Regions from separate parts of the Homo sapiens genome. Here region 2 is linked to region 1. Evidence: promoter capture Hi-C in human tissues and cell types (Jung and others, 2019). All regions are on one chromosome and are shown on one strand. Each heading gives the region's core, a stretch centred on a gene start or on the middle of the fragment in contact. The rest is flanking DNA. Distances are from core to core; before and after follow the strand shown. Region 1 holds the start of ASPHD2 (aspartate beta-hydroxylase domain containing 2). Region 2 overlaps MIAT (myocardial infarction associated transcript).

Region 1 (6,983 bases), core at 257-2,756:
CCTGTCAGTCACTTTTAGCCAAAATATGCCAACAGGCCCCTGCACCCGGAGGTGGATTTACAAGCTCAAAGCTGAACTATGACAATAAAAGAAACACATTTGCAGAGTGACTGGCAGTTTATTAAGCACTGCTTCAAACATTTGATCCTCACAGCTACCTAGTGACAACTCCCCATCTACCCAGTGGGGAGAGGAGAGACTCTCTCCCCCGACAGCTCCTTGCCCAGTGACCACAGTAGCTTCCAGCTTCCTTCGCACATCTGTTCATTGTCATCTGTGTTATTTCTGTCCTCATCAGGGATGGGGACATCTCATTGCAGCTCTGCACTTTAATAATAAGCAACCCCAGATCTTCCAGCTCAGTTGGCTCTGGGGAATTGAGTCCAAATCCATGGCCAGTTGGAGAGCAAGTCCAATCCAAGACAACTTCTCACACCATGAACACCTGGGAGAGCCGGTGTCAGGCCTGACCTGGTCAGCCTAGTTCAGATGTCCATTCCCAGAGGCTGCCTAATGCCAAAGAGTGTCTGCTCACCCTCAGGATGAGGCCAAGTCACCCTGGAAGCCCCCCAGTGAGCAGCACTGGGCAAGGTGTGTGATGCCTGTCACCCTCTCCACTCAGGAGCCAGAGAGATGCCGTGGGGCCAGCCCTTCCCGGTGCAGACCTGGGGACCTTCCCTCTCTTGGCCAGCTTCTCAGCACCCACCTGCCCTGGAGAGTGGGAAAGAGGGGAGGGCTGAAGATGGGTTAGCACAGATGGTGACCACCAGGAGGTCAGGGGAGGAGGGGGATGGGACGATGGAAAGGTGAGTGTTGCCCGGAAAAGTGGACGATCAGCTCAAGATTGTGGAAGGAGGTTTATGGCGCCTCATAATTCGTGGGACAGGGGAGGAGGGTCACCACGTGAAATATGGGAAGTGGGTGATGCTGAGGGCTGGGGGAGGGGACAGGAGGTGAGGAAAGAGGGGTCACAGGGGAGAAGGGAGATGGAGGAAGGGACCACGATGGGGCAGGGAAGAGGAGTAGGAGGAGGTCTAGGGAGGGTGATGCCCGGCTCCGAGGCGGCGGCGCTTAGCACGTACGAGCACTGGCCTCGGCCGGGCCGGGATGCGGGCGCCCGGGTCCCGGAGCATCCTCGGCGGGGGCGGCGGCGGCGGCGGCGCCGGTAAGGGAGGGCCGTGGGCCTGCAGCTGCCGGGCTCCCGCCTCCAACCCCTGTCCTGGGGTCGGCCCAGCCGCGCCGCCCTCCCGCCCCGGCAGCCCCCGGAGACGAAGCTTACCTGCGCCCGGGCGCGCGGACGGCTGCCGGGACCCAGGAGACGCCGCCGCCCGAGGGCGCGGACCCGCGGACGGCCCCTGCCCGGCGCCGCGGAGCCGCCGCCTGGCTGCTGCCCAGCCCACGCCGCGGGAGCCCGAGCCGGAGCCCGAGCCCGAGCCTAAGCCGCGCCGGTGCCCCTGCCGGTGCCGACGCCGCGCTGCGCTCCGCGGGGCCGCGAAGACCACAACTCCCACAATGCCGCGCGCGCTGGGCCGCCGGGGGAGGGGGTACGGGGGGGCGGGGCCTGCGGGGCGGGGCCGGGGACCCCCCTGCACCCGGCACCTGCGCTCGCAGTGCGGGAGGCGACCCGAGGCCGCGCCCGCCGCCGCTCCGGAGGGTCCTGGCAGTGCGCCCCGAGACGCAGCGCCCGCCCAGCCCGAGGTTGCGCGCAGGCGGCGACGGGCGTGCAGTCATTCATTAAGAAAGGCTCGCGTCGCTTCCTTCGCTCTTTCGTTTTTCGCTCTGTGTCTTTCTCAGTTCTCCCTCCCTCTGTCTCTCTGTTCCTCTCTGAGTCGCCCTCGTCTCCATTTCCTCCTTTTCATTCTCTTTCACTTCCCCCCCACCTCACTTCCTCTCGCCCTAACGCCTTCTTTCCTTTATTGATGGACTCAACACGGACTTCTGAGGCCCTCAGGCACTTGGAATGGAACCGCAAATCAAACCAGATTCTTAGTCTCATGGAAAACTCATTCGCTCAGTACAGTAATGATGGGCCAGCCTGGGTCCCCGTCCCTGCCAGCTGCGCTGAGCGTGCGCGGTGAGCGCTCAGGCCCGCCCTGCCCTCAGTGAGCCACCGTCTAGCGGGAGGGGACCCTCACCCCCGGGTAGGGTTTAGGAGGGGAAGTACAGGCAGGACGGTTGTCTGACCAGGGGACTGATGAGCTGCGAATGGAGGCCCCAAGGAGGCTGCTTGGAGGAGGTGACGTTTGAGCTAAGACCTGGGGGAGACTAACAGTGGCTACGGGATGTGTTAGGGGCGCCAGGGAAACTGCATGGGTGGGTTCTGGGAGCATAGAGTAGGATGGCCCGCCCACAATCCATCTGTCTCTGTCCCAGACCCACCTCTCTTGTGTCCCAGAATTTATCTCTAACATGGCCCAGAAGCCACCTCATGTCTGTCCCAGAATCCATTTCTCATCCCTATTCCAGAAGCCACCTTCACCCTGTTCCAGAACGTACCTCCTTCCTGTTCCAGAACCCACCTCCCTCCCTGTCCCAGGACCCACCTCCACCCTGTGCCAGAACTCACCTCCTTCCTGTTACAGAACCCACCTCCTCCCTCTTCCAGAACCCACCTCCTCCCTCTTCCAGAGCCCACCTCCTCCCTCTTCCAGAACCTACCTTCTTTCTGTCCCAGGACCCACTTCCACCCTGTCCCAGGACCCACCTCCTCCCTGTCCCAGGACCCACCTCCACCCTGTCCCAGAGCCCACCTCCTCCCTATTCCAGAAGCCACCTTCACCCTGTTCCAGAACATACCTCCTTCCTGTTCCAGAACCCACCTACTCCCTGTCCCAGGACCCACCTTCACCCTGTGCCAGAACCTACCTCCTTCCTGCTACAGAACCCACCTCCTCTCTCTTCTAGAACCCACCTCCTCCCTCTTCCAGAACCCACCTCCTCCCTCTTCCAGAACGCACCTCCTCCCTCTTCCAGAACGCACTTCCTCCCTGTCCCAGGACCCACCTCCTCCCTGTCCCAGGACCCACCTCCACCCTGTGCCAGAACCCACCTCCTCCCTGTTCCAGGACCCACCCCCTCTCTGTTCCAGAACTCACCTCCACCCTGTTCCAGAACTCACCTCCTCCCTGTCCCAGGACCCACCTCCTCCCTGTCCCAGGACCCACCTCCACCCTGTGCCAGAACCCACCTCCTCCCTGTTCCAGGACCCACCCCCTCTCTGTTCCAGAACTCACCTCCACCCTGTTCCAGAACTCACCTCCTCCCTGTCCCAGGACCCACCTCCTCCCTGTCCCAGGACCCACCTCCACCCTGTGCCAGAACCCACCTCCTCCCTGTTCCAGGACCCACCCCCTCTCTGTTCCAGAACTCACTTCCACCCTGTTCCAGAACTCACCTCCTCCCTGTTCCAAGACCCACCTCCACCCTGTCCCAGTACCCACCTCCTCCCTGTTCCAGAAGCCACCTTCACCCTGTTCCAGAATGTACCTCCTCCCTGTCCCAGAGCCCACCTCCACCATGTCCCAGAACCCACCTCTCATCTCTGTCCCAAAATCCACCTGGTCCCTGACCTAAGAATCTGCCTCTACTGTGATAGCCTAAAATCCACCTCCTCCCTGTTCCAGAACCCAGTTTGTCATGTCCCAGAACCCACTTCTTCCATGTCCCAGAGTACACCTCTCCCATGTCCCAGAATACACCTCTTCCATGTCTTAGACTCTTCTTCATCTCTGTCATTTCTCTCCTTTTCTCAACTCCAAAAGAGGAAGAATGTTTTTTCTCTTTTATTCTACTAAAATAAACCAAAACACTTGCATTGGGAAACCATAATATGCACAGATTTGCTCAAAGTGTGGATAATCAACACAGGCATCAGATTTAGAAACATTAAATGGGATGTCTGTCTTCACTGTCAGCCTAAGAGTGGTTGAGCCTGGGTGGGGTGGAGAAAATGGAGTGGGGGGTATTTGACTCATCTCACATTCAGAAAGTTGCTCAAACTTAGAATTCTCCAAAGGCAGTCATACATTCTATCACAGCATTATCCTGGCAGGTTTGAAAAAAAAAAGATATTTTTATATTGTAAATATGTGTTCCATTCCTGCACCATCTTATCTGTACTGTATTATGAATTAATATTGTCTATCAATCCTATAAGTGTCCTTGACCAGTGCAATTATATGATATCTGTAGACCACTGCTCTGCATTTGTTAGTATTTATTTGTTCAATGGCAATATTACTATACACGCAATTTTGTTAGCCCTGCTTACCATTTCTTCATCTTTTTAATTAGCTGGGAGTCTCAATAAATGGAAATGACCTGGGCCTCTGTCAACCCCTTGGAGACCCTACTAGGTGAATTCTGCAGAAAAGGATATCCATGCCTTTCAGAGGGGGATTTTGGGTGAGAGCTCCAGATAAATTGTTACTGTGCTCATGGAGAGGCGGAGAGGAGGACCAAGGGCATCTGAATTGCCTGCCTTCAGCTTGGCTGCCACCTGCATCCTCCTGCTCTCGCTGCCTTCTTTAGCGCAGTCATCCTACCCACTCCGAGACTACACAACCTATCATTACACCGTCTCATACACTCACGGGGTCCACTCAACTCCCTCCTCCTACAGATGGAAGCCCAGAGAGAAAACATGCCTTGCTCAATCAAGGTTGCAGCAAGTCAGTGGAAAATGTGCTTGCGGCCAGCCGTGGTGGCTCACATCTGTAATCCCAGCACTTTGGGAGGCCGAGGCCAGTGGATCACCTGAAGTCAGAAGTCCTAGACCATCCTGATCAACATGTTGAAACCCTGTCTCTACTAAAAGTACAAAAAGTTTTGTATTAATTTTTGTATTAATTAACTACAGGTGTGGTGGTGCACGCCTGTAGTCCCAGCTACTCTGGAGGCTGAGGCAGGAGAATTGCTTGAACCCAGGAGGCAGAGGTTGCAGTGAGCTGAGATTGCACTACTGCATTCCAGCCTGGGTAACAGAGCAAAACTCTCTGAAAGAAGAAAGAAAGAAAGAGAGAGGGAGGGAGGGAGAGAGGGAAGGAGGAAAGGAAGGAAGGAAAGAAAGAAGGGAGGGAGGGAGGGAGATGTGCTTGCTTGGTGCATTAAAGAAACTGGTATGATCACTTTGGAGAGCAGTTTGGTAGTATTCCTTAAAACAACAACAAATATGTATACACTGAAACCAACAATTTCGCTATGCTATATCTAACCTAGAGGGATTCTGGGATAGATGGAAGACTAGTTGTTTTTTCATATTACGTAATACTGTGAAGCTACTAAAAGCAGGAGCTAGATGTATATATAGCAACGTGGATAAAGCTCCTAGAAAAATAATAGGGTGAAAATTAAAAAAAAAGCAGAATTATGATTGTAGTATGATTTTATCTACATAACACGCACCTGTACACATGTGGGTATACACATGTATTTATATAAAAGCAGGGAAAGCACTAGAAGAACACACTAGTATGTTCTCCTATATAAAATGCAAAATAATTACGTTTGTAAATGCAGATAATATCCCTCAGAGGAAGCACACCAAATTCCTAAGAGTTGTAACTTCAGGGGGGACCAAGAAGGAACAAGGAATTGGGAGCAGTAGGCAAGGGAAACTCCAGCATTTTTTGTGATGTTTTAATTTAATATTTTCAAAGGTGTTTAAATACTCCGGAACAACATGCAGAAAGTTACTGGGACCGCGTCACTCTCCTATCCCTCAACCAGTTGGTTTTCTTTAGTGAAGACAGCCATTATAACAAATTTCTTATTCATCTTTTCAGGAATACGCTTTGCATTTGCAAATATTTGGAAATAGCTTAACTTTTAACTTTTAAAAAGTAAGTTTCACTTTTAACAAATAAGTATTAGTATGTTATTTGTGATATTAAAATGGTTTTTAAAGCCGGGCATGGTGGCTCACACCTGTAATCTCAGCTACTTGGGAGGCTGAGGTGGGAGGATTATTTGAGACCAGGATTTCAAGACCACCCTGGACAACATAATGAGAGCTTGTCTCAAAAAAATTTAAATAAAAGAAAAATTTTATTCACATTAAATATTATTTTTCAAGAATGTAGAATTGTTCAACATCAGAAAGTATTTTAATAGAATTCATTCTGTTAACAAAGTAAAGGAGAAGAATGACACCATGATCTCAACAGATGCAGAAAAAGCATTTGACAGAAGTCAAACATCCATTTATGATTAAAACTCCTAGAAAACTGGGAATATAAGAAAATTTTAGGCCGGGCACGGTAGCTCACACTACAGGTGTGGTGGTGCACGCTATAGCACTTTGGGAGTCCAAGGTGGGTGGATCACCTGAGTCCAGGAGTTTGAGACCAGCCTGGCCAACATGGTGAAACCCCATCTCTACTAAAAATACAACAACAACAAAAAATTAATCGGGCATGGTGGTGGGTGCCTGTAATCCCAGCTACTCAGGAGGCTGAGGCAGGAGAATTGCTTGAATCTGGGAGGCAGAGGCTGCAGTGAGCCCAGATCATGCCATTGCACTCCAGCCTGGGCAACAAGAGCAAAACTCCATCTCAAAAAAAAGGAAAGAAAAAGAAAAAAGAAAACTTTAAAAAATTGTATAAAAGGTATCTGTCAAAACCTACCATGCTACAGGTTAATATTCTTCATGAGCACAGACACATGCATCATTAACAAAATAATAACTAATCAAGTCAAGCAACATTAGAAAACATAACATGTGTGTATAATGAAGAATTTAGCTCGTCTTTGTCCCCAATTCTTAACCCCTAAACCTTTATAATTTCTTGAATAATAAGTGTGTCTTTGTTATCTGTGCATTTGTGGTAGACCCCTCAGGCCCTACTCGATAGTTTGTGCTAATGCGATAACTCAGGATGGGGGTTGGCCACACCAGAAAGACCAATCATGTGATTAGAGGGTGGAGACTTTGAGCTAAATGGTATCATCTCCAGGGAAGGGAGGGGGACTGGAGATTGAGTTCA
Region 2 (7,095 bases), core at 3,493-5,992, 250 kb before region 1:
AGCTTGCTCCATGACTTGGTCCTGTTGCTCCCCGGTCTAATCCTCAGGCCACTCTGTCTTCCCCCAACCCTGTTGGCCTGCCATACCTGCCCAAGGCCAAGAGAAACCATCAACACATGAAACAGGAATTGAGAGCCCATCACATGCAGACACGTTGCATATGCTCTCTTGCCAAATCCGGGTAGCTTCATTGAAAGGGACACAGTTGGGCCGGGCGCGATGGCTCATGCCTGTAATCCCAGCACTTTGGGAGGCCAAGGTGGGCGGATCACCTCAGATTGGTATTTCGAAACCAGCCTCACCAACATGGAGAAACCCCATCTCTACTAAAAATACAAAATTAGACGGGCATGGTGGCACACACCTGTAATCCCAGCTACTCGGGAGGCTGAGGCAGGAGAATCACTTGAACCCAGGAGGTGCAGGTTGCGGTGAGCTGAGATCGCACCATTGCACTCCAGCCTGGACAACAGAGTGAAACTCCGTCTCAAAAAAAAAAAAAGAAAAGAAAAAGAAAAAGAAAGGAACACAGTTATTCCCATTTTACAGATGGAGAAACTGAGGCTCAAACAGGGGAAGTCATCAGCCCTAAGTCACATAACCAGTAAGGGGTGGATCTGGCTACTCCCTAATTTGCCTGGACACCACCCACTAGAAAAGCCCAACTGACTCTTGTTTCATTCATTCAGTAAAATGTTGTTGACTCCCAACTCTGTGCCAAGTGCAGTACTGGGTACCCAGGGTACAGCTGTGAAGCAGGCTGCATTGCCCCTGCCCTTGTGGTGCTCACAGTCAGGGGAGCAGTCAATGAGCCAATAAATATGAAATCACAAACTGTGCTCAGATCCCCGAGGGCAATGAACACCCTGCAGGGAGAAGGAGTGACAGGAGAGAAACCAGCATAGAAAGAGTAACTGGGTTCGATCCCACAAGACGGAGTCAGCATTTTGGGGTGATGCGGCCCCATGGGTGTGGTGACCACCTTGAATCCAGGTTTCTCCATCCTCCAACCATGTGTCTTTGGGTGAGTTTCTTCACCTCTCTAAGCTTCAGTGCCTCCTCCTATAAAATGGGGGTGGTAATGAAACTCGTAAACTATTTCTGAGCACTTCATACATCAATGTGTCCAAACCATTCAGCACAGAGCCTGCATGGAGCAAACACTCGGAAAACAGTACCGGCCACTTTAACTCAATCCAGGTGAATGAAGGTGTGTTTGGAGGTGGAGAGAGAAGGAACAGTTTTGCCTGCAGGAAGAGCTCACAGCATCAGCGAGTTCTTGGAATAGTCTAGGCCTCAGAGGTCGATGGTTGGGGGATCCTGCATTGCTGAAAACACCAGTGTTATCAAAATAGTGAACCCTGCTGAGAGTGGCAGGATGGAATGGAAGCCAAAGGCGTACTTTGCCCATTTGGTGGAGGAGTAAGCTGAGGCTTAGAGAGGGGAAGTCACTTGGCTTGGCCTCTGTTAGGAAAAGGAGCCCTCGGCTGGGCAAGGTGGCTCACTCCCAGCACTTTGGGAGGCCGAGGCGGGTGGATCACAAGGTCAGGAGTTCAAGACCAGCCTGACCAAGATGGTGAAACCCCGACTCTACTAAAAATACAGAAATTAGCCAGGTGCAGTGGCAGGCGCCTGTAACCCCTGCTACTAGGGAGGCTGAGGCAAGAGAATCGCTTGAACCTGGGAGGCAGAGGTTGCAGTAAGCCGAGATCGCGTCACTGCACTCCAGCCTGGCGATAGAGTGAGACTCCATAAAAAAAAAAAGGAAAAAAAAGAAAAGAAGGAAGGAAGGAAGGGAGGAAGGGAGGGAAGGAGGGAGGAAGGGAAGGAGGGAGGGAGGGAAGGAGGGAGGGAGAGAGAGAGAGAAAAGAAAAGGAGCCCTCCGCAAAAATGAAGAGTGGTTTTCCAGAGTTTCTGTCCTCAGCTGCATTCTCTCCAGTCCCTATCCTTGTCCCACCCATGCCAAGTCCTACTCAATGCCCTAAAACTCTGTGATTTCCAGAGTATCCCGTAGAGCATCCAGCCCCAAATGCCCCTGAGAGGAACTGAGTTTCCAATAATAAGCAGTGAGGGTTTGGTGCAACACCACCATCTCCTGGTCGCTCCTGTGAACTACAGCTCTGGCTGGGCCACAGAGCACCTACAAAGCGGACTGGACTCCCAGGAGCTACACGACACTGACATGCAACAGACTAAATGCAGAGGCAGATATCAGAATGCAACACAATCTGTCTTCTATTAGGCCAGACATTAAAGAGATTTACCCTAAGAAAGTAAAATAATGCTGTCTTCTCACTAAATTTATTTTGCTTTGGAAAATACGGTTATTCATAATAAAGCATGTGTTATTTTTGTTAATATGCGATGGGTTTATTATTGTTATTGTGATTTTTCCATGAATAAACAAGTCTTTTTAAAACGTCTCTGTTTTAATTTACAACATGGCAGAGTCTCTACAATGGTTTCCTTCTGTCCCTGTCCCCCATCCAAATCTAGTTTCCATTCACTGCCTCTCCTGGGCTTTGCACTCTGCAGGGGTGATGCCTGTCTGCTGTGCCCTGGGCACCCAGCATTGTATTTGACACACAGTAGGACTCAACAACATTTTGCTGAATGAATGAAACAGGGGCCAGTTGAGCCTTGTGAGTGGCCAGCATCCACAATGCCTTTGAAAAAACACCTGCAACTGGGCCTGGCTGCCCAGAACACTTTTCTGAGAAAAAGGCTGAAAATGCACCCAAGTTCCCAAAGATAGGCAGGCAATCAGCTAGCACTGTGCGTCATATGGCAAGAGTGTAAAGAGCCTGAAGCCAAAATGTTTGAGAACTGCAGTGATAGAGTACTGTGGACAGGGTGGTCAGGGGAGGCTTCTCTGAACAAGTGATGTTCAGCTGAGCGCCAACAAGAAGTCAGCCACGTGAAAACCAGAGGGACATACATTCTAAGTGACGGGAAAAGCCAGTGCAAAAGTAGGTACCCAGGCGAGAGCAAATAGGTGCACTGGTAACAGAAAGGCCAGCAACCTGGCATCCCAGAGGCTAGGGCAGTGCCCACTATAAAAGAAGGACTCAGTAAACAGCTGCTGGGTGAATAGAGGGAGGGAGAGGAGGAAGAGAAAGGAGGACTGGGAGGAAGCTCTCTTCTCATTAGGGGTCTTGTAGTCCTTTGAGGGCAGGGGGGCTCACAAGTTCTGCCAGCCGTGGGAGATTCCCAACTCTTCTTACCACGCCTTGAACACTGCTGCACAGACCAGCCTCCACTTCTTAGCTCAATCTGTAACCTCCTCTGAAGTGTCCACCCTGCCCCCACCCCAATATCCTATCAATATCCTCATCTCCTACCGAACCAGTCCAATGAATCTTGGAGAAGCCATCCTGAAATGCCCTGCACCATCACTATTTTCTCCTGATTTATTGACTATTCCCCATCCTTCAAGGTTCCCCTCAAGTTTTGATTCTCCCAGAAAGCCATCCCTTACTGCCCCCACCCTCACCCCACCTCCTCCTGACCTTCTTTCCAACAGAGCACCTCTGGCCCCCAATCTCATCATCTGGTGCTAACACAGAATGAGGTTTCAGGGAACACTTGCAGGGCATCAAGCGCTGTCTTAGCTCTGCAAGAACGCTTGGGAACCTTCACAATGGCCCTATGAGGTGGGAGTGGTCTCCCCATTCTACAGAGCCGATGGAGGCTCAGGGAAGGGCAATCATCCCCAAGATCTAACAGCAGGTGTGTGGCAAAGCTGGGATTCAAACTGAGGATTATCAGTAGTCTCAATCCTAAGACTGACTCCAAAGTTCTTTTAAAACTTGGCTACCCAGAACACTGTTCTGAGAAAGAGCCTGAAAATGCACCCAAGTTCCCAAAGAGAGATAGGCAATCAACTTGCAATGTCTGTCAAGGATGCTGAAGGGAAGAGTGGCGATGTGTGTGGCTTATATTTGCCAGTCCTTCACGATCACACACTAAACTCTATCTTTTTCTCTGTCACCAAGGAACTCTTTGACTCCCCAGTGAAGTATAAGATCCCTGGCAGGCCATGCGCGGTGGCTCAAGCCTGTAAACCCAGCACTTTGGGAGGCCGAGGCGGGCAGATCACGAGGTCAGGAGATCGAGACCATCCTGGCTAACACGGTGAAACCCCGTCTCTACTAAAAATACAAAAAATTAGCCGGGCGTGGTGGTGGGTGCCTGTAGTCCCAGCTACTCAGGAGGCTGAGGCAGGAGAATGGCGTGAACCCAGGAGGCAGAGCTTACAGTGAGCCGAGACCGCGCCACTGCACCCCAGTCTGGGCAACAGAGCAAGACTCCATCTCAAAAAAAAAATAATAATAAAATAAACAAATTCCCTGGCAATAAGAACCTGGATTTCTGGAAGCACTGCCCTAGGCATAAAGAAGTGTTATTTTTTAAAAATACCACCAGGCACAGTGGTGCACGCCTGCAGTCCCAGCTACTCAAGAGGCTGAAGCAAGAGGATCGCTTGAGACCAGGAGATCAAAGCCAGCCTGGGCAACATAGCAAGACCTCATCTCTAAAAAAAAGAAAAGAAAAATAAATACCAATGGTGATAATGGTTGCACAACAATGTGAATGATACCACCAAGATGTTCACTTAGAAATTATTATGGTGGTGAAGTTTTATGTTATGATTATTTTACCAAAATTAAAAAATAAAATACCCTATTATATTGACTTCTAGGGTCACTCTTGAGGAAAGGCTGACTCACCGAGAGAGCCCACCCCTGCTCCTTGAGAATGCCACTGGCTGCCCCCTCTCCCCTAAACAGCACGTCCCTTCTGCTTCATAGGCCACAGTCATGTTTCCAGCGTGAATTGATTTTTAATAGCAAAATGGCATTTTACACAGAAGCAGCTACATTCATGGATGAAAACAAAAATCCAAGTGACGCTCCTTTGTTGAATCCATGTAAAAATCTGATTTTTAATCTACAGAGAAATTTCTACCCACACATTCGGTATCCCCTGGGGGTAATGACATGGAAAACAAACATCTTTTCTGGTCTGTTAAAGTAAAACAATGGGTCCCTGGATAGACTCTCAAGAGGGCCTTTGATGGAATGGAACCAGTCCCCCCACCCCGAAAGCATCCCCCCAGCTCAACATGTCACCATTTACACCAGCACAGCCCTCACATTGGGTCCACAGCACAACCTATTAAGAAAGGATTATAACACCTGTTCGGATTGGGAGGCCAATTCCTCAGCTCTAAGATCCTGCTCATAGCAAGCTTGATGTTCAGTAGACTCCAAAGCAGACTGAATGAGGGAGGGGTCGAAGAGAATGTGCCTGCTTGGGCTCAGCCTCCTCTAATATTGTCAAGATGCACACACACTCTTAGAATCTCACAACCATCGCCAATCTCTATGTTGGCCTAGTCCCAATCCTTCTGCCTCTGGGAACAAAAGGTTCATTACCCACCAAGGCATATTTTTCCCTCTCTGGGACCAGGATCAGCTCTTGCAAGCTTACTCCACACTTGTATCTGCCCCTTGCAGCCATGCATGACAAATGGGCTCCCTCCCCAATGGAATTATCTTATAGACTTGCAGCCTATGACTGTGTTTCCCCTGATCTTCTCCAGGGACTTCCCACCACCATGGGATGACATGTTTTCAAGATTGCTCCCCTTCCGAGCCTTTATTTTCACCTTGGTCCTCTTTACTTTCCAGTCATTGCAGAGATACTTCCAACTGGGGTAGACATGTATGGATTCTGTTTATCAAAAGATGGACCAAAGGGTCTTCCTAGTTTCAAAAAGTTCTGCTCAGTTGTCTAAAATGTGGCCAGAGGCCATTGCAAACTCCTCTGAGTTCCACCTGGGCTGGAAAAGCCAAATGGCCAGCCTAAAACTCAAATCCACTAACTCCCTTTCTCAGATCATATCCGTCGCTCCCCAAGGCCTAAGGATAAAATCTAAACTTCTTGGCAACCAGACCCGGCACCATGTCCATGTCTCCTATCTCTTGCTACATTCCACATGAACCTTCCAGAACCTCTTTGGATCCTCTCTGATCCCCAGAAACTGGTGTCCACCACTCTCGCTGCCCGGAACTCATCCCCACCCACACTCCACCCAGCCACAGCTCAGCTTAGATGCCTCCCTCTCCAGAAAGCCACCACAGGGTGGATTAGGTGTCTCTCTGTCCCCATTCCACCCCCCTGCACCCAACACACTAGAATTAAAGCTCCTGAAGACCAAATGGTGTTTAACTACCACTACATCCCCAATGCCTGGCACACGCCTGGCACAGAGTAGGTGCACATCAATCTTGTCTGTCTCCTTGGTGCTCCCACAGACCCCTGACCAATCATAACACCCATCTCACTGAATCACTATCTACTTCACCAACTCTCCCACTAGGCTATAAAAGCACCATGACGAAAAAGCCCAGGTGCAGGTCCCAGCGCCCAGAGCAGTGCCTGGCACATAGTAGATCCTTAGCAGCATCAAGTCTTTGCAGTTAAACAAAGAGGAGTTTCAGGAATAGGAGGTGTGAGCTTCCTGCTTTGAGTGAAATGGAGCAAGGCAGCCACTAGAGGATGGCAGGCAGGCACTTCCGGGTGTAGACTACCCCATCCAAGGTCCCTGCCAGCAGCCAAGGCATGTTCTCAAAGCTCTTTCTAAGACATCTTTTCTCTCTTGTGCCCTCTGCAGCTCAGGCCTCTGGATCACCCTTCACCCCCACTGCCAACTACAATTGGTTAGCTCTGAGTCCACAGTTGCCAGAGAAAAGGGCTCTCAGCACCAGACTAGCATTCAACGACCCAAGCAACCTGCCTCTAAGGTCTGTAAGCCAGCCTTTGACCTGTCCCTAAACTGATCCAATCCTCCAGGCCCTGCCTTGAACTGTCTTCTCCTGCAGACTCTGACTACCAGACTGAGTCAGCAAAACCTTGAACTAGTGCCACCTTTTACCTGCACCTGGAATCCCTTGCGTATGCTCCCTGCCCCTCTACTCCCAAAGGACGTTCCCTCAGTCTAAAGAGATCAAAAGTCCCTTCCAGAAAAACTCCCGTTTCCTCGGTGCAGCTAAATTGCACAGAAGAGTTTATGCTAGAAGAGCTAAAAGT

Evidence for each region. The method cuts DNA at HindIII sites, captures the fragments that hold promoters and counts their contacts. A contact is called where the count stands out against the background at its distance.
Region 2: a fragment that was not itself captured here is called in contact with the fragment with the promoter of ASPHD2 in region 1 in 1 of the 25 tissues and cell types used here (lymphoblastoid cells).

The regions. Positions count from the first base shown.
Region 1 is chr22:26,423,783-26,430,765 of GRCh38, reverse strand. It overlaps ASPHD2 (aspartate beta-hydroxylase domain containing 2), which reads right to left and starts at 1,506. Exons shown (of 4, transcript NM_020437.5): 1 at 1,280-1,506. RefSeq lists silencers at 1,356-1,415, 1,536-1,665. The HindIII fragment of the contact is 9,826 bases long and covers 1-6,983 here.
Region 2 is chr22:26,674,207-26,681,301 of GRCh38, reverse strand. It overlaps MIAT (myocardial infarction associated transcript), which reads right to left. Exons shown (of 5, transcript NR_033320.3): 5 at 4,824-7,095. All of the region lies in intron 1 of MIATNB (MIAT neighbor), which reads right to left. Among named protein-coding and RNA genes, the nearest start is that of MIATNB, 4.9 kb to the right of the region's middle. RefSeq lists an enhancer at 1-558. The HindIII fragment of the contact is 3,185 bases long and covers 3,150-6,334 here.